4 separate regions of the Homo sapiens genome follow, and regions 1, 2 and 4 are each linked to region 3. Evidence: promoter capture Hi-C in human tissues and cell types (Jung and others, 2019). All regions are on one chromosome and are shown on one strand. Each heading gives the region's core, a stretch centred on a gene start or on the middle of the fragment in contact. The rest is flanking DNA. Distances are from core to core; before and after follow the strand shown. Region 1 has its middle 64 kb from the start of DISP3. Region 2 overlaps DISP3 (dispatched RND transporter family member 3). Region 3 holds the start of FBXO6 (F-box protein 6). Region 4 overlaps MTHFR (methylenetetrahydrofolate reductase).

Region 1 (6,855 bases), core at 977-3,476, 250 kb before region 3:
GCATAGTTGCAAGATGGCAGAACCATAATTGGAAAGTAGGCCATCTGGCTTAGGACTGGGATCTTGGCCTCTTTGCTAAGGGATTGCCCCCCCACCCCCACCATCCTTTCCACCCTCCTGCCTTGAATACAACTCCCCCCAGCCCTGCCCGATCTTTAACTCCCCCTCAACCACCTGGCCCATCAGTGACCTCCTAGCCCTGCCATGAAATCTGGGCCAGCCCCATGCTGGGGCATGGCTCCCAGCCTGTCCTTAGAAAGACATACTCCCTGCCAAAAAGCAGCTCAATGAAGAGGACATGGTGAGGGCAGCCCCATTAATATTCCTTCCTTCTGTCATTTTGGCAGGAAACAGTGAGATCCTGGAGAGGCGGGGAAGGGGGAGGGGGCAGTGAGTGTGGGGCTGTATACCTGACAAGAGGAGACGTCTTATGGCATCATTCATGAGGGTGGGTTTAATCCTGGCAGAGGGATCAGGATGGGTGGAGGGATGGGAGGCATCTTCAGAAGGGAACCCCAAAGGATGGGGAGGGATGGCCTGGAATAGATAAAGGGTGAGGAGCCTGGGTGCCCCCTACCCAGGAAGGCAGAAGCAAGGCCACCTCCCTACGATAGTCTTTACAACCAGCCCGACCAGTCATGTGTCATATAAGTGCACACGCACACATACACGCACACACACATGCACACTGCTGTGCACTCCCTGAGGAGGGTCCAGTGCGGTCTGAGCCATGTCTTTGTCCCCAGCACACTTAGCTCAGAGCCTGGCCCTCAATCATGAATATGTGCTGAACAGATCCTGGTTTATGTATTTTAAAATTTTTTAAATTATAGTCATGCTTTGCTAATGACAGCGTCAGAGGCTGATAAATGCATCATTAGGTGATTTCGTCCTTGTGTGAACGTCATAGCGTGTATTTACACACACCTAGATGGCGTAGCCTATTCCACACCTAGGCTCTATGGTAGAGCCCGTTGCTCCTAGGCTGCAAACCTGCACAGTGTGTGTGTCCCAAATGCTCTCGGCAGCTGCTAACACCGTAGTATTCGTGTATCACAACATATGTGAACATAAGAAAGGCACAGTAAATATATTGTATTATCGTCCTACGGGACCACCGTCATCTATGTGGCCGTCGTGGGCCAACACATTGGTGTGAAGCACATGGCCGACCACGTGTTGTATCTGAATCTAGGTCGACCCACTGTGCGATTAAACACCAAAGTAGCGTATTATGGAGAAAAAGTGAAATTCTCTCCCTCCTTTATCCCACCGCTTTCTCTGCTCCCCACCAAGGTAAACACTGTTAGCAGTTTGGCAGCCTCCTCCTTCCGCAGGGTTTCCAGAAGGCATGAATCTGTAATCTCACGAAGCGGGCAACACACACACACACACACACACACACACACACACACACACACACGCTTTGGGACCCACCACCCTTCCTTTATTTTCCCCTCCTCCATTTCCTCCCTCCCCCAGCCCCCTCCGCCACTGCCGTGGCCCTGGTGCTGGACTCAGCAGGGATTCACAGCAGGACAGCAGAGGCTGTCCTCACCCTTCCCAGTATTCCTCCTCTGCTGAGAGGGAGGGACATGGGCATGGATAGGGGAGGGTGGCAGTAGGTGGAGGTTCCCCAGGAGGTGTCCCTAAAGGGTAGGGAGAGAAATTGGAAGACCCAAGATTGGCTGCATTTCTAGCTGAGACTCTTTCGTGATAGCTCTCCCTCCTCCCTCCTCCCTCTTTCCTCCTCCCTCTTTCCTCCTCCCTCTTTCCTCCTCCCTCTTTCCTCCTCCCTCCTCCCTCTTTCCTCCTCCCTCCTCCCTCTTTCCTCCTCCCTCCTTCTCCCCCTTCTCCTCCTCCCCCTCCTCCTCCTTCTCCTCCTCAACTGGAGCCCAGCCTTGTATCTCTTGCTCCAATGCGGAGCCTTGCATGGAGGTCTCAGCTTGCTCTGAAAGCTTGTCATGTCTGTGTTTAATGAAGTTTAATTATCTTCCAAGATTCAATGAATAATTATAAATCTTTTCAAGATGCAATCACACGGGTTCATGCTTCATTAACAGTGGAAAATCAATTGTAATTCGCGTAATTCCTTTCTTCTGGAGATCAGTCTGTTTGTACACGCGCTCCCCTCCTCACCCTGCTTTGTCTGCCCCAAGAAGTACAAAGGATGCCTGGCTTTTTCCTCCAGAATTGACGAGCCTTGTCAGGAGCAGGGAGGAGAGCGAGGCCCAGCTGGAGCAGGTGGGGGAGGGGAGGGAGAGAAAAATGGTCCCAGGGGAATAGGCCTGGGGAGCTATTTCTAGGAGGCAGAGCTGGGGGATGAGGGATTGGAGGGCAGAGGGGAGGAGTCTACAAGGCTATGAGGAGGCAGAGTGTTTCTTAACTTTTTAGGGGGGTCCCAGACCCCTTTAAAAACCTGTTGAGGCCAGACACAGTGGTTCACACCTGTAATCCCAGCACTTTAGGAGGCCGAGTACTGGTTATTTGAGGTTGGGAGTTCAAGACCAGCCTGGCCAACATGGTGAAACCCTGTCTCTATTAAAAATACAAAAATTAGCCGGGTGTAGTGGCACACACCTGTAATCCCAGCTACTCAGGAGGCTGAGGCAGGAGAATCGCTTGAACCCAGGAGGCAGAGGTTGCAGTGAGCCGAGATGGCACCACTGCATTCCAACCTGGGTGACAGAGCAAGACTCCGTTTCAAAAAAAAAAGTCTGTTTAAACTATTGACGCCCCCAGAAAAATGATATTCTGAGGGTGTCACCTTGCTTTCAGGGTGTTACATCCTGAGGTCCTTTCCAGCTGCTCTGACCTCCTAGGGGTCGCAGATAACTGTGAGAATACGAGGCTGCTTCTTAGTAATGTTGGACATTCTTTTAGCTCCAAGAAATCCAGAGCCCCTGCTGGGAGCTGGGTGCCATCTGCGGCCCAGCTCCAAGAGAAACTGCCTCGCTTTTCTCCAAACCACAGACGACAGCCCTGGGCCAGGGCAGCTGTGCCCGAGCCTCGTCTTCTCTGAGATGTCTGCCGCCAACAGCGCCACTGACCGGCACAGCCTTGTTGCAGACAACACTTAGCTTTCTCTCGAAGGTGGCAAGTTGCCCGCGTCTGCACAGCAGAGGAGAGTGGGGCTCTGTAAGGGACTTCAGGGGCCACAAAGATATGGGGAAGTCCTTATCCAATTAGCCAGACCACTGGAGGGAGTGGAGGAAAGAAAGCTGTTCTGCAGATATCTGGACTCTTCAAAGTGAATAGAGGATGAGGACCTCCGACCTCTTGCTGCGGGCGGTTTCTTCCCTGAACTTCAGTCCTCAGCCTCTAAGCTGCGCTGTCTAATGGAACTTTCTGTCCAGTGTAGTAGCCACCGGCCATATGTGACTATTTCAATTTAAGTTAATATCAAAGAAAATTAAAAATTCAGTTGCTCGGCTGCATTAGCCACGTTTCAAGTGCTCAAGAGCCACACGTGGCCTGTGGCTGGTGTATTGGACAACACAGACATAGAACAGAATCATCATTAAAGAAAATTCGACAGACGATGCAGGTCTAGGGTCTGTAGTGCATGTCTGCAATCCATCAGATCTCATGAGCTGCCCCTAGACTTCGATTAAGTATTAGTTTCCTATGGCTGCTATAACAAATCACCCCAAACTTAGTGGCTTAAAGCAACACAAATGTATTTCCTAATGGTTTTGAAGGTCAGAAGCCTGACATGGATTTCACTGGGCTAAAATCAAGGTGTTGGCACAGCTGCACACCTTTCTGGAGGCTCTAGGGGAAAATCTGTTTCCTTCCCTTCTCCAGCTTCTAGAGGCCACTGGAATCCCTGGAATCATTCCTCTTTGTCCATCTTCAAAGCCGGGAAGACCATATCTATCTCCACAGAAGAAAGAAGTTCTCCTTTTTAAGAACTTGGATGATTAGACTGGATCCGCCCAGGCCATCCAGAATAATCTCCCCATCTCAGTCCTTAATTCGCTCAAATCTGCAAAAACTCTTTCCATGGAAGGTCATCTAGTCACACATTCCAGGAATAAGATGTGGACATCTTTTGGGACATTGTTCTGCCTACCACAGGTCCCAAACTTTTTTTTTTTTCCAGTTGTGGATCCTGAGATCCAGAGAGGAGAAGAGGCTTTTCCAAGTCACACAAGGTGTAACGGGTACTGCAGTCTCCACCCAGGTTCCCTCTTCCAGGGCATGCACCCACCCCTAGCTGCTGGAATTAGAAGCTGCTGATAGCTCAAAACTGTGCCCCTCACAGAGCATTGCCTTTGGCCTATAGACCTGTCTTGATCAATGTCACACCCTACCCCACCCCTCCCTGCAGGCCCCCTGACAATGACAGATGTAACTATACAAACGTCTGTTCCCTTGCCTCTATTTGGGACCTCTGTAGTGACCAGTCCAGGTCCAGAGCCCTTCACGGGATGAGCTCAGATCTTAGGGGCAACGATTGAGGATCGGCTTCTCCCTCTGGCCAGTCCTGCAGTGATCTCGGATCAGTTTCCCTCTGGCAGTACTGCTGTGCTCGCTACCCTTCAGGTGTGTCTCCTGGAAGCCTCCCCAGTCACTCATCTGCAGCAGCCCAGGGGACAAAGCTCCAGCTCCTCCCCTTGGTCCATAGCACCTTTTATGATCTGGCCCCTGCTGGCCCGTCAGCCGCAGCAACTCACATGCTCCCTGTGCTCCAGCCTAAACAAGTCACTTTCAATTTCCCAAATGTCCCAGACTTTCTCGGCCTCCAAGCCTTTGCCCATGCTGGTCCTGCTGTTTGAAATGCCCTTCATCTCCTGGCCAACTCCTCCTCACTCTTTAGGACTCAGCTCAAATGTCACCTCTTCCTGGAAGCCTTCCCCAACTTCCTCATCCCATCCCAGTCTCCAGGAGGATCCTCTCCGCTGAGCCTCCATGGCTCCCTGGGCCCACTGCTTTGCAGCTCTCACCAAGGTCTACAGAGTGCTCTGAGATTGGAGCTGTGTCTTATTCCTTTCTGTATCTTAAGACACAGCATCTTGCCAAGAGTGGGGACTCACTAAGTGTTTGTTGACTGACTGTGAACTCAGCTGGCCCCTATTATCCCTATTTACAGAGGAAGTTGAGAAGGTAGTGAGACCTGGGACACTGAGGCCCATCCTGGGGACTCATTTCCCGAGCAAAGACATCCTGGCAGCTCCCCAGACTCCAAAAGGCCAGGAACTGCCGACAGCTGCTTGACATCTGAGCTGCAACTCCTGCCTAATGAATGATTCCTCTTCCACACATATGTTTCTGGTAATCAATTGGCTCGTCATTAGCCCACAGCAGCAGTTGTCTCAACTTCAAATGAAATGCAAATGTAATTGTTTTCTTTAGGCCTGGTGGGGTCAGGCTCCTCTTCTCAGGAGGAGGCCCGTCCCCCTCTCCCAGACTGCCAAGACTCAGGACTGCAGGGCCTGCTAGTGCCCTGGAAGGAGGCTGGACTGGAGCTCCCAGAAGTGACATAAGCCCCCTCTGCTCACCCAGTGTTTGGCTTGTTTCTCCTAACTAGCACTGCAGTCTACTTGCCACCCTCGTATGCAGTTCAGTTGCAAGTACGCTCAAGTAATGTGCCACTGATAATCATTGATGTACCAACCGTTGTGAGTAATTTGCTTAAAAAATATACAGCCGAGTGCGGTGGCTCATGCCTGTAATTCTAGCACTTTGGGAGGCTGAGGCAGGTGGATCACTTGAGGCCAGGAGTTTGAGACCAGCCTAGCAAACATGGCGAAACCCTGTCTCTACTAAAAACACAAACAAATTAGGTGGGCGTGGTGGCGCATACATGTAATCCCAGCTACTCGGGAGGTTGAGGCAGGAGAATCGCTTGAACCCGGGAGGTGGAGGTTGCAGTGAGCCGAGAGGGCATCACTGCATTCCAGCCTGGGCCACAGAGCAAGACTCTGTCTCAAAAAAAAAAAAAAAAAAAAAAAAGAAATAAAAAAAAATCAAGTAGAGTAGATTTAATGTTCTCTGTCTAATAAGGTCACTGTCACTCATCCCACATGCTTCCTTGTAGGGAAGAGGCCGGGGGGCATTATATCTGGGAACAGTGTGGCCTCCAGGGCTGTCTCACTGCCGCAGCAGCCTGAGGGTCATTAGCAGTCAGGGCAATTGTGAGTGATCATGGGGTGTGTGCATTGCAATTTTATAGCTACACTCATTTCCTTTTACATGTTGGATTTTATTAAACTCTGGATGAGCCTGGATGGGGGAATTATTGAACTGCTTATAATGAGGATAGTTAACCCCTCCAGAGCACTTTCGCCCGTTGCAGGTACCATTTTCAGAGCTCTATGTGCATGATGATTGTCTTAATCTTTTTATGAGCCCATGAAGTAGGTTCCATTATTTTCCTCATTTTAGAGAAGAAAATTGAAGCTCAGAGAAGTCAAGAAATGTGCTCAAGGTCACCCAGCTGCTGGGTGGCAGAATAAGGATTTGCACCTCAGTTTATCTGAGTCCAGAGCTTGCTTTTAAAAATTCTTGCAAGACGTACACTGAGTTGCCTCACATTTGCCCATTGACCCACTATCTGTGAGTTGGTCCTGTGCTGGGTGCTCAGGAGCATCAAAAGACAGGTCCTGGGAGCCAGACCTGGGACCCCAGGGCTCCTGCTCCCCCAGAGCCAGGTTGCTATCCGCCTATGTCCTTGTCCCATCCTCTCCCTACTAGAGGACAGTGATTCTTTCCTCTTGCACTCTCTGGCATCATCAATTTTCCCTCTCTCCTGGGTCATTTCCAATGCCATAAGCATGCTATGATTTTTCCCCATCTTAAGAAAATAACCTTCTCTCAACCATGCTCCTCTCCTCTGTGCTACACCATTTC
Region 2 (7,022 bases), core at 4,321-6,820, 140 kb before region 3:
GTTCGCCAGCCGGCTCCGCCCCGCCAGCCGGGCCCCGCTACTCTTCCGGCCTGATACCAACATCCAGGTGCTGCTGGACCTCAAGTACAACCTGAGCGCCGAGGGCATCTCCTGCATCACCTGTTCAGGTGAGGCTTCTAGCCAGGCTGTCCCTGGCCCGCTCAGGTGTCCGGGTCCCAAAGACTGTTGGTCTGAGAGATGCAGGATCCAGGGTCCCCATCAATGCCAGACCTCAGGCAAATCCCACTCCCCTCTGAGCCCCCATGTTCCCACAGTTCATTCAACAGATGCCTGCTGGGTGCCTGCTGGGTGCTGGCTCTGGGGAGGTACTGTGGGCGGGAGGCATAGGCTTCCCAAGCTCAGGGAGTTCACATTCCAGCTCTAGGGCCCGGTCACTGTAATAGTAGATCTGAGCTTTGGCGGAGGAAGAATAGGGTGTCTTAGAGGCCCACGTCATGGAAGGCTTCCTGGAGGAAGTAACGTCTAGGCCACAACTCACAAGAATTGGGAGGAGTTAGCCAGGCTGGGAGGGGAGAGGAGGAAAGAAGAGGGGTCAACCAGGTGGGGAGGGGAAAGGAGGGAAGGGGTGGGGTTAACCAGGCTGGGAGGAGAAAGGAGGGAAGAGGAGGGGTTAGCCAGGTGAGGAGGGGAGAGGAGAGAAGGGGTGGGGTTAGCCAGGCTGGGAGGGGAGAGGAGGGAAGGGGTTAGCCAGGCTGGGAGGGGAGAGGAGGGAAAAGGAGGAGTTAGCCAGGTGAGGAGGGGAGAGGAGGGAAAGGGTGGGGTTAGCCAGGCTGGGAGGGGAGAGGAGAGAAGAGGAGAGGTTAACCAGGCGGGGAGGGGAGAGGAGGGAAGAGGAGGAGTTAGCCAGTTGAGGAGGGGAGAGAGGGAAGGGGTGGGGTTAGCCAGGCTGGGAGGGGAGAGGAGGGAAGGGGTTAGCCAGGCTGGGAGGGGAGAGGAGAGAAGAGGAGAGGTTAACCAGGCTGGGAGGGGAGAGGAGGCAGGAGTCTAGGCAGAGGAGAGCACCAGAGGTGGGAAAGACCAATGCCACATTTGAGAGAGGCAGCTGCAGGAACTAAGTCTGGCCCAGTGGACTGGGATAGGGCAGATGGGCTGAAGTGAGGGGTCTGGATTTTATTCTGATTGTCACTGGAAGCTAGTCACGTGGTTTAAGTGGAGAAGCGGGGTGAGGGAGTCTCCCAGGTGCTGTGTGGAGGTGGACTAGGGCACTGGGGTGGAAGCTAGCTGGGAGGCTGAGAGCTGGTGGTGCTGGGACCAGCATGCTGATGGCAGCGATGGTGGAGTCAAGAGGTTTTTAGGAGGTGGTTTCCATAGGACTTGGTGACGGAGTGGGAGTCGGGAATGAGCCAGGAGGGAAGACAGAGATGGCTCCTTGATTTTGAGGTAGCTGGCCCAGGCCGCATTTTACAGAGGGGGAGCAGGCGAAGTCAACCCAAGGTCATCTGACTTTGCCAGGGCAGTTAGAAACCAAATGAGAAGACGCCTGGGTGAGTGCTTCCAGCTCACAGGAGCAGATCTGCTGGTGCTGTCATTACCTTTATTTAATTAGGGCGGTGCTGAGATCAACCTGGCCTTCCCCTTGGTAATGGCAGCCAAATGCGTGATAATCCACTGCAGCTCCGAGAGGCACCAGAAGAGCCCCTCACACTTCGGAGCCAGCCCTGGCCACGTCCCCAGCTCCTCTACCCCACTGCCAGGATGTGGCATTGCTCCCCATCATCACCGCCGCCACAGGCCTCCTGCCCACAGATGGACAAACCCCGAAGCTCCCTGACAACATCTGGGGCCAGGACCCAGCCAGAGCCCAGCCAGGACCCAGCCAGAGCCCAGCCAGGACCCAGCCAAGACCCAGCCAGGACCCAGCCAGAGCCCAGCCAGGACCCAGCCAGAGCCCAGCCAGAGCCCAGCCAGGGCCCAGCCAGAGCCCAGCCAGGACCCAGCCAGAGCCCAGCCAGGGCCCAGCCAGGACCCAGCCAGGGCCCAGCCAGGGCCCAGCCAGGGCCCAGCCAGGACCCAGCCAGGACCCAGCCAGGACCCAGCCAGGGCCCAGCCAGAGCCCAGCCAGGACCCAGCCAGGACCCAGCCAGAGCCCAGCCAGGACCCAGCCAGAGCCCAGCCAGGACCCAGCCAGAGCCCAGCCAGAGCCCAGCCAGGACCCAGCCAGAGCCCAGCCAGGACCCAGCAAGGACCCAGCCAGGACCCAGCCAGAGCCCAACCAGGACCCAGCCAGGACCCAGCCGGAGCCCAGCCAGAGCCCAGCCCCTACTCCCTGTGCCTCTTCCTCTGGGAACTGCCTCTTGGAGGGACCCCTTCAGAGTACAGCAGAGTGCTTCGGCTTTACAAAGGGCAGGCGAGGCCAGAACCCAGCGGGGCTGCAAGTCCCTCCCTGGGCAGGTCCTTTCACCTCTGCTTTCCACTCCATCAAGTGGGGTTCATGGGAACAGCCTCAGGATGGCTGTGAGGATTAAAACTTTGAAGGTGTAGTTCTCTCATTTCTAATTTAAAAAACCCAAAGGAAGGGCTAACACACAACGCTTGAGGCAAAACAGGAATATATGTCTCCCACCATGTCTGCCAGCTGATGACCTTGGGTCACTCTAACAGTCACTCCTGTTAATTGGATGCAGAGGATGTGATGTCCCACCCCCGAGGGAAGTGTGGCATCATCTCCACCCGACAGAGGCGGCAGAGTGGCACAGAGAGGGTGAGCACGGGGGCAGAGTGGCACAGAGAGGGCAAGCGGGGGCAGAGTGGCACAGAGACAGCAAGCAGGGGGCAGAGTGGCACAGAGAGGGCGAGCAGGGGGCAGAGTGGCACAGAGAGGGCGAGCAGGGGGCAGAGTGGCACAGAGATGGCAAGCAGGGGGCAGAGTGGCACAGAGACGGCGAGCAGGGGGCAGAGTGGCACAGAGACAGCAAGCAGGGGGCAGAGTGGCACAGAGAGGGCGAGCAGGGAGCGTTTCAGTGTTTTTCTCTGGGCAGGCTGATGGTGCCTTTCTCTGGGCCTAAAATTCCTATAAATTTGGTATTTGATTTTTTAAAAGTTCTTTCTAGTTTCTTTCTGACCCCTGACACCCACCCCCTCCAGTCCCTGGGCCCCAGTTCCTGAGACTGTCTCAGATCCCAGCCTCTTCCCTCTGCCCATCGGGCCCAGGCCAGGATGTCCTGCTGTCCTGCTGTCCTTGACATGGCGCTGGGGGGCAGGTCTGTTCCAGGAGAAGCCCCACAGCCTGCAGAACAACATCCGGACGTCCCTGGAGAAGAAGAGGCGAGGCTCAGGGGTCCCCTGGGCTAGCCGGCCTGAGGCCACCCTGCAGGGTGAGCACTGGGGGTGGAGGGTGGGGAAATCCTCCCTGGTGCTAGGGTTGAAGGCCCTGTAAGGAGAGCAGATAAAATTCCTTCTGGATTCTCCTTCAAGAAGGAGATTGTGTGTTCCTGGTCACTGCAGAGGAGCTGGGGATGGGGGGTGAATTTGGGGCCCTCACCTCCCATCCCGCCAGGACAGTAGGCTCCCGCGACACCCTGGTCTGTGGTGCCCCCAGAGCCTCCCTGTGCACCAAAGCCACCCTGAGTGTCCAGGGGCAGAGGTGGGCATCCTGGGCCCTGAACACTGGCTTGTCCCTGCTGGAGTCTCCCTCAGAGGTGGGTGCTGGGTCAAGTGTACTGGGGGAATGAATGCCCCATCAGGCAGCTGTGTCTGTCCCTGTCACCCTATGGCACTGTTGCCACCTCTCTCCTACTACTGTCACTCCCAGCACCAGCCCTGTACCAACACTAGCACATTTTCAGCAGGATGCCCTCCATCACTGTCACCTCCGCTATCTAGTCCACCCCATCCCAGTGACTACCACCTCCCCCACCATCCCTACCACCCCATCCAGTGCCCACGACCTCCCCCACCATCCCTCCTACCCCATCCCTGTGCCCACCATCCCTGCCACCCCATCCCAGTGACTACCACCTCCCCCACCATCCCTGCCACCCCATCCCTGTGCCTACCATCTCCCCCACCATCCCTGCCACCCCATCCCTGTGCCTACCATCTCCCCCATCATCCCTGCCACCCCATCCCTGTGCCTACCATCTCCCCCATCATCCCTGCCACCCCATCCCTGTGCCTATCTCCCCCACCATCTCTGCCACCCCATCCCCGTGCCCACTATCTCCCCCACCATCCCTGCCACCCCATCTCTGTGCCCACTATCTCCCTCACCACCTCCCCCACCATCCCTGCCACCCCATCCTGTGCCCACCACCTCCCCCACTATTATTGCCATGGACCTGGTCCAGTAGAGAGGGGCACAGCCAGCATTTTGAGATGAGCCCAAGGCCAGGACTGAGCTCGTTAGTCGACAGAGCTGAGGGTGGGCTGCTCCAGGGTCAGGAGAAGCCAGTCGAGGTCAAGTCCACCCCTCTTTCATCCCTTATTTGTCCGTAGATTTCCCAGGCACCGTGTACATCTCTAAAGTGAAGAGTCAAGGCCACCCCGCTGTCTACAGGCTCTCCCTCAATGCCAGCCTGCCTGCTCCTTGGCAGGCTGTGTCGCCTGGGGATGGAGAGGTGCCCTCCTTCCAGGTGAGCCTGGGCTGTCGTGAAGTGAGCCGCCACCACTGTGGGTGGTGGGGGGCTCTCAGGGCCACACTGGTGGGCAGCCCTGGCCAATAGGGAGGGAGAAGCAGCTTTGAGGATGAAGACCCCCCTCCCCTAAACCAGCCATGTCTGTGACAGGGACCTGCCGAGTGGTAGCAGCGTGGGCTTCTGAGTCAGCCAGGCCTGGATTCAAATCCTGGCTCTGCCATTTATTAACTGTGTGTCTTTAGGCAGATTACTTACTCTCTGAGCCTCAGTTTCCTCATCTGTGACATGGGGATGCAACAAGCACCAGCCAGCATTGTTGGAGGGGTGTGAGGTGAGGCCTGTGCCGTGCAGAACGCCTGGGTGCAGTCCCTCCTCAGGCAGTGGCGGCCAGGAATCTTGCTGTCCTTGGTAGCTGCTCCAGCGCTGCAGAAAGGAGTCCCCGAGCCCAGACTTGAGTTTTCCCCTTCATGGGAGTCATTTGTGTTTCTTTTCTTTTTCTTGGGGGTGGGGGGAGGACAGGGGCTTGCTCTGTCACCCAGGCTGGAGTGCAGTGGCATGATCATAGCTCACTGCAGCCTCGACCTCCTGGGCTCAAGCGATCCTCTCTCATCAGCCTCCTGAGTAGCTGTGACCACAGGCACACACCACCATGCCAGCTAATTTTATCTTTTATTTTTTGTAGAGACAGGGTCTCTCTGTGTAGCCCAGGCTCATTTGTGTTTCTTTAACGTGGTACACACCCTCCATGGTGACAGGGACACGCGCCAATTCATTTGTTCAGGATTTATATTTCCATTTGGAAGATGAGGTCTCTGAGGCTTTTCCTGCCTCTAAGCCTCGCATGTGCAGTTCCCACTGCCTGAAAAGCTTTTCCTTCAGCTTCGTGCGTGGCTGACTCCTAGGTGCTCGTTCAGGTCTCAACATGCCTGTTGGTCCCCACAGAGCCCTGCCCCGGCGCCTTTCTCGCCTTGCCCTCCTCTCCCTGCCATTTATCCTGTCTTGTCTTCCTTATTCTTGGAAGCCATCATCATTGCCAGCTCCAAGAGGTCAGGGACCGTGCCCCTCAGAGCCTGGCACAGTGCCTGGCATGGGACAGACACTCAGTGAATGATTGTTGAAGGAAGAAACAAGGCTCAGAGAGGGAGGAAGGGATTTGCCCAAGTGCTGAACTCAAACCCAGGCCTCCCAAGCCTCTGCCCAGGGCTCTGTCCCCAACTCCGAGGACTGGGACAGGGTGAACTATGCCGAGGAGGGAGGGGACGGAGCCTGAGGCTGGCCCAGGCCGAGGCAGCCCCCCCGAGTCATGTGTCTTGTCTCTGTCAACCCACTGCTTAGGTGTATAGAGCGCCTTTTGGTAACTTCACCAAGAAGCTGACCGCTTGTATGTCTACAGTAGGGCTGCTCCAGGCGGCGAGCCCCTCCCGCAAGTGGATGCTGACGACCTTGGCCTGTGATGCCAAGCGGGGCTGGAAGTTTGACTTCAGCTTCTACGTGGCCACCAAGGAGCAGCAGCACACCCGGTAACAGAGCCTGGCAGACAAGCCGGTGCCCATCAGCCCGGCTGCTTCTTTGCCCTTTTCTCTCTTTTCTCTCTCTTTTCACATGAGGGATGCCAGCAGGCCCCCTCACTTTTTTTTTTTTTTCTTACTCTGTTGCCCAGGCTGGAGTGCAGTGGCACAATCTTGGCTCACTGTAACCTCTGCCTCCCAGGTTCAAGTGATTCTTCTGCCTCATCCTCCTGAGTAGCTGGGATTACAGACATGCACCACCACTGGTACCTGCTTAATTTTTGTATTTTTAGTAGAGATGGGGTTTTGCCATGTTGGCCAGGCTGGTCTTAAACTCCTGAGCTCAGGTGATTCACCTGCCTTGGCCTCCCAAAGTGCTGGGATTACAGGCGTGAGCCACTGCACCCAGCCCTGAGGGATGCCAGCAGACTCCTTTAAGAAACTGCTGGCCAGGTGCGGTGGCTCATGCCTGTAATCCCACCTCGGGAGGCCGAGGTGGGCGGATCACGAGGTCAGCCGATCGAGACCATCCTGGCTAACACAGTGAAACTCCTTCTCTACTAAAAATACAAAAAATTAGCCAGGCATGGTGGCACGCACCTGTAATCCCAGCTACTCAGGAGGCTGAGGCAGGAGAATCACTTGAACCCAGAGGCAGAGGTTGCAGTGAGCCGAGATCGCGCCTCTGCACTCCAGCCTGGGCAACAGAGCGAGACTCCATCTCAAAAAAAAAAAAAAAGAGAAAAAGAAACTGCTGTCCATTTCCACCTACCTGCTCAGATGGGTCTCTGCCCAGGGCTGGGGAGTGGAGAACATTGGCAAAGAGACGGGCCCGGGAGCTGCTCCCCACCTTGATAGCTCCTCAGGGGTTGCAGTGGCCACCTGGCTGTCCCTCTGGCATACCAGGCCCCTTTCCATC
Region 3 (5,000 bases), core at 1,581-4,080:
CCAGACCTCTAACCCTTGCCCCTAGCAGCCTCTTCTTTGTGGAGCCTCTCAGTGTGGGCAGCCCTCGCATGCTGGGGTCGGGCCAGCTCTCCCCGAAAGGTCTTGACCTGAATGATGGCCGGGGAAGCCTGCGTGTGCCCCTTTCAGAGACGGAGCACCTGAGATGTGGGAGGTGCAGCATGTTCCCCTGGGCCCCTCAGAAAGTCGAGCTTGGAGGCCAGCCTGGATCTGTCTCTCCCTTCCCCTCCTGGGACCATTCTACCTGTGTTCTTTGACCCTCGGAGCAGGGACAGGCAAGACAACTGGCAAGCTTGCAGCTGCCCTGATGGTGCAGGTGCAGGGAGGTGACCATGTAACTCTGACCAATCTGGGAAGTGGAGGGTGGGCTCATGGGCCGTGCTCTGCCCCTGTCTGCTGCTCCCAGTCTCTCGCTCTGCCTGCCTGCTCAGAAGAGGTGGCTTTGGCCCAGAGGCTCAGGCCGGGACTGAGATGGACAGACCCAGGGTGGGGTGGGGTCCAGGTCGGGTGTGGACTGTCCTCACTGTCAGTGGAGCCCCAGAAGCTAGATGGGTACCAGGTGGGGTTAGGTTCCCAGAGGACTGAGGGAATCCTGTACAGGATGTCCCAGGGTAGATGGGGAGCAGGATTGGGACCTGCTCTGACAGCTGGACACATGAGCCCTGGATGAGTATGGTAGGGGGTTTGAAGAATCCCCTGTCCACCTCCCAAATCCAGGCCCGGCCCCCTCTGGCTTGGAGAGCATTCCAAGCCCCCACCCCACCCCTAGAACTGCCATTCCCAAGACCTCTGTCTCCCAGCCAACCACCCTTGGAACTTGCCTCTTGTCCTGCTGGAAAGATAGCAGTGTTCTCCTGACTTCGCCCTACTGCATGCAGCCAAATAAAAGGTGTGCCCAGTCTAACCTGTGCCCTGTGGTTTCTGGAAGGAAAGGCAGACTTTAGGTGGTCCTGCCTGGACCTGCAGATGGTACAATGGCATGGCTTCTGTCTAAGGTACAGAGGGGTTGGCATTTCAGGAACCAGGCCATCACAGAAACAGGTTCATGGGCAGACCCCTCAGTGAGCTGCAGGTATCTCACCTGGCAGCCGTCCAGTACTGCTGGCTTCCTCTGGAGGCCCAGCCACAGGCTGGGGTTGGGGTGTGTGGACATCTCTGGGCAGCTCTTGAGTCCACCTTGTGCCAGATCAGCAGTGCCACCCAGGCTCTGCCTCCTGGTGTTACTCTTTGCCAACAGCTTTACGGACATTGGATGAAGCCGAAGCATTTAGAATGGTGCCTGGCACACAGTTGGTGCGTGATATGGTTAAGCTTTGTGTCCCCACCCACATCTCATCTTGAATGGTAATCCTGGGTGTTTAGGGAGAGACCTGGTGGGAAGTGATTGGATTATGGGAGCGGTTTTCCCCCATGCTGTTCTCATGATAGTGAGTGAGTTCTCACGAGATCTGATGGTTTTACAAGTGACGGTTTCCCCGGCTCCCTCCTGCCGCCATGTGAAGAAGGTCGTTGCTTCCCCTTCACCTTCCACCACCATGATTGTAAGTTCCTTTTTTCTTTTCTTTTCTTTTTTTTTTTTTTTTTTTTGAGATGGAGTCTCGCTCTGTCGCCCAGGCTGGAGTGCAGTGGCGCAATCTCAGCTCACTGCAAGCTCTGCCTCCCAGGTTCGCGCCATTCACCTGCCTCAGCCTCTGGAGTAGCTGAGACTACAGGCGCCCACCACCATGCCCGGCTAATTTTGTTTGTATTTTTAGTAGAGATGGAGTTTCACCATGTTGGCCAGGGTGGTCTCAATCTCCTGACCTCGTGATCCACCCACCTCGACCTCCCAAAGTGCTGAGATTACAGGCGTGAGCCACCGCGCCCAGCGATTGTTTCTTGAGGCTTCCCCAGCCATATGGAACTATAAGTCAATTAAACCTCTTTCCTTTTATAAATCACCCAGTCTCGGGTATTTCTTTATAGCAGTGTGAACATGGACTATAATCCAGTGCTCAATAAGTACTCCTCACATTTAGCTATCTCAGTCAAGGGTGAGCTAGATAAGGGCTTTGGCCAGGGCAGGATCACCACCCACCAGCCCATGGCAAACTGCAAAAGGACGGCCTTCCACGGAGAACATGTAGCCCTGACTGCAATTAATGTGTCCTGGGCCAGTCCCCTTGTGCAGTACACAGCCTGCACAACCCTTGGTGGTTGCCTGAACAAGGTGCTTGCTAAATATTTGTTGACTGATGGAAGAAATTCATGAACTTAATCCTGATAAAAAACCTCAGAGGTTTTTTATTTTTTGAGACAAGGTCTGGCTCTGTCGCCCAGGCTGCAGTGCAGTGGTACAGTCTCCACTCACTGCAGCCTCCCAGGTTCAAGCGATTCTCCCACCTCAGCCTCCGGAGGAGCTGGGATTATAGACCTGTGCCACCACGCCCGGCTAATTTTTGTATATTTAGTAGAGACAGGGTTTTTGCCATGTTGGCCAGGCTGGTCTCGAACTCCTGACCTCAAGCGATCCTCCCCACCTCGGCCTCCCAAAGTGCTGGGATCACAGGCGTTAGCCACCTCCTAGCACCTCAGGTTTTTTACCTTTGAGTCTATGAAGCCTGCGGAGGTCACGCCCTAGGGAAAGAAGGAGCCCACTGGGTGTCAGGTCCTGCCTCTAGGGAGGGGACCGCGGGTCAAGGGTGGAGCCCTGGGCCGCATAAGGAAGGAACTAGTGCGGAGGTCCGGGGAGCGGCCGCGCGTTCGGGAGCTTCGGCCCTGCGTAGGAGGCGGGTGCAGGTGTGGGTGCTGAGCCGCCCGCCGCCTGGAGGGGGAGACAGCTTCAGGACACGCAGGCCGCAGCGAGGGCCCGGGCCCTGGGGATCCCAGGTTCGTCTTCCCGCGGCGAGGGTTAGGGGCCGGGCCGAGAGGGACGGCAGCGGGGTCCGGGGCGGGGGTGGGGACCGAGCGCAGCGCGTGACGCGGCGGCGGGGCCCAGCGACAACGAAGCCGAGGCCGTAGGCTCGGGCCGACCTGGAGCTCCGCCGCTGCGCCCAGGTCGCGTCCCCGGGGGGACGGGCGGCGGGCGAGTGGGGAGCCGGGGTCTCCGGCGCCTGGGCGTTCACGGAGCCTGCGGGCGCTGGTCCGGGCGGCCAGGGGTGGGGGGCGCGGGCGGCTGGGCCCGGACTTCGACTGGGGGCCTGGCCCCGGGGCCACCCAGGCGGAGGCTCTGCGGCCGCCTCCACCCCGGCCACATCCCGAGGCCGGCGCCGGGTTCGGAGAACTGTCAAGGGACCTCCAGGCCCCCACACGCCTGCGAGATCCGGCGCTTGCCTTGCCCCAGCCACAGTTTCTGTTTCCGAGAAACCGGTGAAGTAACAATGCCACTAGAGCTTGCTGGGAGGGTGGGTGCGGAGAAGGCGAGCACGAGACGCCGGGCCGGGCAGTTGGGGACCCCGATCGGTGTGAGAGGGCTTCCTAGGGCTGGCATGGACTTCCCCACCACAAAATGCCCAGGGCCGGGGGGGGGAAGGGGCGCAAGAAAATGCGGACTGGGCCAGAGACCAGACTTCGGTCACCACGGTGGGAAGCTATTGGTGCCTAGATGCCTCTAGCTTGGAGCCCAGTGACTTTTATTTCGTCTAGAGTCTAGACAGTGCCTTTAGAAGCTGCCAGCATTTATTTATTTATTTATTTATGGCAGAGTCTTGCTCTGTCACCCAGGCTGGAGTGCAGTGGCATGATCACGGCTCACTGCAGCCTCGACTTCCTGGGCTCAAGCGTTCCTCCTGCCTCAGCCTCCTGCATAGCTGGGACTACAGGCACGGGCCACCAGGCCTAGCTAATTTCTTTTTTTTTTTTTTTTTTTTTTTTTTTGAGACGGAGTGTCGCTCTGTCGCCCAGGCTGGAGTGCAGTGGCGCGATCTCAGCTCACTGCAAGCTCCGCCTCCCGGGTTCAGGCCGTCCTCCTGCCTCAGCCTCCCGAGTAGCTGGGACTACAGGCACCTGCTTCTCGAGTAGCTGGGACTACAGGCACCTGCAACCAAGCCCGGCTAATTTTTTGTATTTTTAGTAGAGATGGAGTTTCACTGTGTTAGCCAGGACGGTCTCGATCTCCTAACCTCGTGATCCGCCCACCTCGGCCTCCCAAAGTGCTGGGATTACAGGCGTGAGCCACCGCGCCCGGCCTTTTTTTTTTTTTTTTTTTTTTTTGAGACAGATTCTCACTCTGTTGCCCAGGCTGGAGTGCAGTGGCACGATCTCGGCTCACTGCAACCTCCGCTTCCCGGGTTCAGGTGATTCTCCTGCCTCACCCTCCCGAGTAGCTGGGACTACAGGCGTCCGCCACCACGCCCAGCTAATTTTTGTATTTTTAGTAGAGACGGGGTTTCGCCATATTGGCCAGGCTGGTCTCGAACTCCTGATCTTGTGATCCGCCCGCCTCGGCCTACCGAAGTGCTGGGAATACAGGCCTGAGTCTGTGCACCCGACCTAATTTCTTTTTTTCTAGAGACAGAGTCTCACTATGTTGCCTAGACTACAAGCATTTTTAATTGACAACTTTTACATTTTTTTTCAAATGCTTACAGTTGCTTCTCAGAACTTAGAAGACTTGGCCACATTGGGTTTTTTTGTTATTTTTTTTTTCCATCAAAGCATTTTTCTTTTCTCTTTTTTTTTTTTTTTTTTTTTGAGACAGTTTTGCTCTGTTGCCCAGGCTGGAGTGCCATGGAGCAATCATGGCTCACTCTGCTCCAGCAGGCTCCTTCTTTCCCTAGAGTGTGACCTCGGCAGGCCTCATGGACTGTAAGGTAGAAAAATCTGAGGGGCTGGGTTCGGTGGCTCACACCTGTGAGCTACTGCAGCCTTGACCTCCTGGGCTCAGAAGATCCTGACGCCATAACCTCCCAAGTAGCTAGGACCATAGGCACTCGCCACTATGCCCGGCGAATTTTTTCACTATTTATAGAGACGGGGCCTCCCTGTGTTGCCAAGGTTGCAAA
Region 4 (3,913 bases), core at 240-2,739, 130 kb after region 3:
TGGGTTGAGCCAGCCTTTTAGCCCTAGATGTGTCTGTTGGTAACATGGTGTCATCTAACCCAGCTGTTCCCATGCTGCACTGATCATCCGAATCACCTGCCAAGCTCAAGAAGTAAAACACACATTCCGAGGACCTCCCTCAGATTTACTGAGTGAGAACCTCCAGGGGTGGGACCTGGAGATCCACTTTTTGAAAAAGCTTATCAAGTGGTTCTGATGACAGCCACCTTTGGGAAACACTGATTTAAGCAGGATTTGTAATGAGAATTAGAATCCCTTTTGGTGATGCTTGTTGGCCAAAGTACAACAAACCCCTCAACAGACACTGTTGCTGGGTTTTGGGGGGAAAATTAGAGGTAACCAAAATGGGGTGGCCAAGCAACGCTGTGCAAGTTCTGGACCTGAGAGGAGATCTGGGAAGAACTCAGCGAACTCAGCACTCCACCCAGAGCCCCCAGCCTGTGCGAGGACGGTGCGGTGAGAGTGGGGTGGAGGGAGCTTATGGGCTCTCCTGGGCCCCTCACCTGGATGGGAAAGATCCCGGGGACGATGGGGCAAGTGATGCCCATGTCGGTGCATGCCTTCACAAAGCGGAAGAATGTGTCAGCCTCAAAGAAAAGCTGCGTGATGATGAAATCGGCTCCCGCAGACACCTTCTCCTTCAAGTGCTTCAGGTCAGCCTCAAAGCTCCCTGCTTCGGGGTGGCCTTTGGGGTAACCTGCCAATAGGGATGACAGTCAGGAGAGGCTGGCCTCCACCTGTTCAAGGCGAGGGATGAAGAGACCACAGGGACTGGGCAGAGAGAGTCCTCTGCTTTGGGGGCTCTGATCTTGCACCTTCCAACAGCACAGCACAGCCTGAACTAAAACAGTGAGTGGCTGGGCTCATGACTGATATGCTTCTGACCCCAGAGATGACTCTCAGGGGAGGTGGCTCAGAGCCCAGTTCCAAGAGTGGGGGTGGATTGCTCCAAACTCCCACACTGTCCTGCCTTGAGCAGCCAAGCAAATCAGGCCTGCACTTGGTGGCCATAGAAAAGAGAAAATGCTACAGTTAGCACTGGCTGGGCAGCATCTGGGGTAGTAAGCTTGACTTTTCTCTAGGCACCGGATTAAACATTGTTTTTAATGTAACACTGAAATTACTCAGGGGTCCAAGATAGTGAAAAGCTAAAAACCAAGTTACACAAGGAAGAACTGAAGAAAGTGATGTTTTCTTCAAAGAAAATAATGGATGGCAGGGTGCGGTGGCTCATGTCTGTAATCCCAGCACTTTGGGAGGCCAAGGCAGGAGGATGACCTGAGGTCAGGAGTTCGAGACCAGCCTGGCCAACATGGTAAAACCCCGTCTCTACCAAAAATACAAAAATTAGCCAGGTGTGGTGGTGTATGCCTGTAATAGCTACTCAGGAGGCTGAGTCAGGAAAATTGCTTGAACCCACGAGACAGAGGTTGCAGTGAGCCGAGATCGTACCATTGCACTCTAGCCTGGGCAACGAGAGCGAAACTCCGTCTCAAAAAAAAAAAAAAAAAAAAGAATGAAAAGAATACAGAAACTCCTTTCAAATGTCCAAAGGTCTGTCCTGGGGAAAAAGGATCCACCATAGGTGAGTTTGTTTTGTTTTGTTTCAGAGACAGGGTCTTGCTCTGTCACCCAGGCTAGAGTGCAGTGATACAATCATGGCTCACTGTAGCCTTGAACTCCCGGGCACAAGTGATCTCCCACTTCAGTCTCCTGAGTAGCTTGGACTACAGATGCAAGCCACCACATCTGGCTAATTAAAAAAAATTTTTTTAATTAATTATTTATTTTTTAGAGATGGGGTCTTGCTATCTTGTCCAGGTTTGTCTGGAACTTCTGGGCTCAAGCAATCCTCCCACCTTGGCCTCCCAAAGTGCTGAGATTACAGGCATGAGCCACTGTACCCAGCCCCCTAGTGAAGTTCTTTATTAGTCATATTCTGTGTTGTTTCTAATGGCAGAACCAGCATCCGGTTCAGAGAGCTGGCTAGAGTACTATAAGCCACTCACAAAACAATGAGCTCCTGGAGTCTGAAAACACAGGGGCAGTGGATGCTGAAGACAAGATTCCAGAATTGCTTAGGAGGTGGGATCAGATGTCCCATAGGCTCCTTACTGGCTCTGTGAACTCTCTGACCCCTTTCCTCAATGACTAAACTTACTAGCCGCCTTGCTCGGTCAGGCAAGCAGGATGACCATAGGCCTTCATGAAACTACATGGAGTGCTGGTTTCATCAGCCCAAGCCCAGGGCAGGACTCTGAGCCAGGCGGAAGGCCAAGCTGCTTTGCTCTGATAAGGCAGTTCCGTTCTTAAGAAACCCAGAGTCATCAAAAAATGAATATAAAAACTATTGTTTCAAGGGGTAAGGGAGTGGGGGATAAAGCAATGGGGCTTCACACTTGCAATAACAAAGCTATTTTCCCAGTAGGAATTTCAGAAACAACAAGGCTTTTTAATAGCTGAAAAGTATAGCTACAATACCTAAATATCACCGAACAAATCTAGCATTTGATTACGTATAGATTTTGCTATTTACTCTATTTTTCTATCATGAACAGCTGAGGGCTTTCTTTTTTAAAATGTTTTTATTTTTTGTAGAGACACGGTCTCACTGTGTTGCCCAGGCTGGTCTTGATCTCCTGCCTCAGTCTCCCAAAGCTCTGGGATTACAGGCATGAGCTACCATGCCCAACAGGTTGGTGTTTTCTAATCCACTCATCTTCATTACCCACTTGATAAGCAAAGTAAGAAACCATTCAGCAACTGTGAGCTCACAGCTTCACTAGTTTCCAATCATTATCACCTAACGCCCATCACGGGTGCATATTCCCCCAGTAACTGACTATATAATGGCTGATACAAGCGATGACAATTTAACAGTTGGAAATGTCTGTTCTCTGACTCCTAATCAGTGCTTCCCAGACTTAGCACCTAAACACCCCTGTTGACAGAATGGACATGTCCATCGGGGGTTAGGGACAAGGCCAAAGTTACTCACAACATGTAATTTTCTTGAAGCCACGTGGTTTGTTTTTTGGGTTTTTTGTTTTGTTTTTTTTGAGACGGAGTCTGGCTCTGTTGCCCAGGCTACAGTGCATTGGTGCGATCTCGGCTCACTGCAAGCTCCGCCTCCTGGGTTCAAGCGATTCTCCTGCCTCAGCCTACCAAGTAGCTGGGACTACAGGCACGCGCCACCATGCCCGGCTAATTTTTGTATTTTTAGTAGAGACGGGGTTTCACTATGTTGGACAGGATGGTCTCAAACTCCTGATCTCATGATCCACCCGCCTTGGCCTCCCAAAGTGCTGGGATTATAGGCTTCAGCCACCGCACCTGGCCTTTTTTTTTTAGTTCATATCACTTTAGATGCTACTCCATAACATAGCCATGTTTAATATAAAAATGGTAGGATTTCTCCCAGAATATTGGCAAAAAAACTGTCATCCCAGAAAATGTGCCAATCCCGGGACTTCCTGTCCCTGGTGCACACTGTCTTGCCATACCTGAGCGCTGTCTGAGACGCTGAGGGCTCAATGCCAGCCTTCAGCTTCAAGGGTGGGAGAGAAGTCCAACCCACCCATTTCTGTTGGGGGAACCTGGTCTTGTGGCTGTGGCCAATGGTGATTCTCTTTCCTGGGAATTTGGAACGGAGGCCTGTCCATTAGCCTGGGGAACTGGCTGGAACTGACACTCTGCACACTCAGGAGCAGGCCAGGTGTGTGGAAAAGCATGGGTATCAGGTCTCCCAGATGAAGCACAGATGTGCAGTGGGAAGCGGAGATGGGGGACCCTGTGGCCCCAGAGGGAATGAGGGAGGGCCTTGCTTTTTGACCTCTTCCAGTGCCTTGTGAGGTCTGAGGCCATCTCCTGATCTTGGGTTCCCTGCCCTCTG

The links. The method cuts DNA at HindIII sites, captures the fragments that hold promoters and counts their contacts. A contact is called where the count stands out against the background at its distance.
Region 1: a contact is called between a fragment that was not itself captured here and the fragment with the promoter of FBXO6 in region 3, in 3 of the 25 tissues and cell types used here (mesendoderm cells, neural progenitor cells and thymus).
Region 2: a contact is called between a fragment that was not itself captured here and the fragment with the promoter of FBXO6 in region 3, in 1 of the 25 tissues and cell types used here (adrenal gland).
Region 4: a fragment that was not itself captured here is called in contact with the fragment with the promoter of FBXO6 in region 3 in 2 of the 25 tissues and cell types used here (dorsolateral prefrontal cortex and spleen).

Annotation. Positions count from the first base shown.
Region 1 is chr1:11,412,082-11,418,936 of GRCh38, forward strand. No RefSeq gene overlaps it. Among named protein-coding and RNA genes, the nearest start is that of DISP3, 64 kb to the right of the region's middle. RefSeq lists an enhancer at 4,172-4,856. The HindIII fragment of the contact is 9,718 bases long and covers 1-6,855 here.
Region 2 is chr1:11,520,721-11,527,742 of GRCh38, forward strand. It overlaps DISP3 (dispatched RND transporter family member 3), which reads left to right. Exons shown (of 21, transcript NM_020780.2): 10 at 1-128; 11 at 3,222-3,335; 12 at 4,456-4,592; 13 at 5,931-6,115. Among named protein-coding and RNA genes, the nearest start is that of DISP3, 45 kb to the left of the region's middle. The HindIII fragment of the contact is 5,869 bases long and covers 2,637-7,022 here.
Region 3 is chr1:11,661,370-11,666,369 of GRCh38, forward strand. FBXO6 (F-box protein 6) reads left to right here and starts at 2,831. Exons shown (of 6, transcript NM_018438.6): 1 at 2,831-2,886. It overlaps FBXO44 (F-box protein 44), which reads left to right. Exons shown (of 6, transcript NM_033182.7): 6 at 1-1,958. RefSeq lists silencers at 2,897-3,116, 3,167-3,236 and an enhancer at 3,357-3,406. The HindIII fragment of the contact is 9,200 bases long and covers 820-5,000 here.
Region 4 is chr1:11,795,682-11,799,594 of GRCh38, forward strand. It overlaps MTHFR (methylenetetrahydrofolate reductase), which reads right to left. Exons shown (of 12, transcript NM_005957.5): 5 at 525-718. Among named protein-coding and RNA genes, the nearest start is that of MTHFR, 8.3 kb to the right of the region's middle. The HindIII fragment of the contact is 7,275 bases long and covers 1-3,913 here.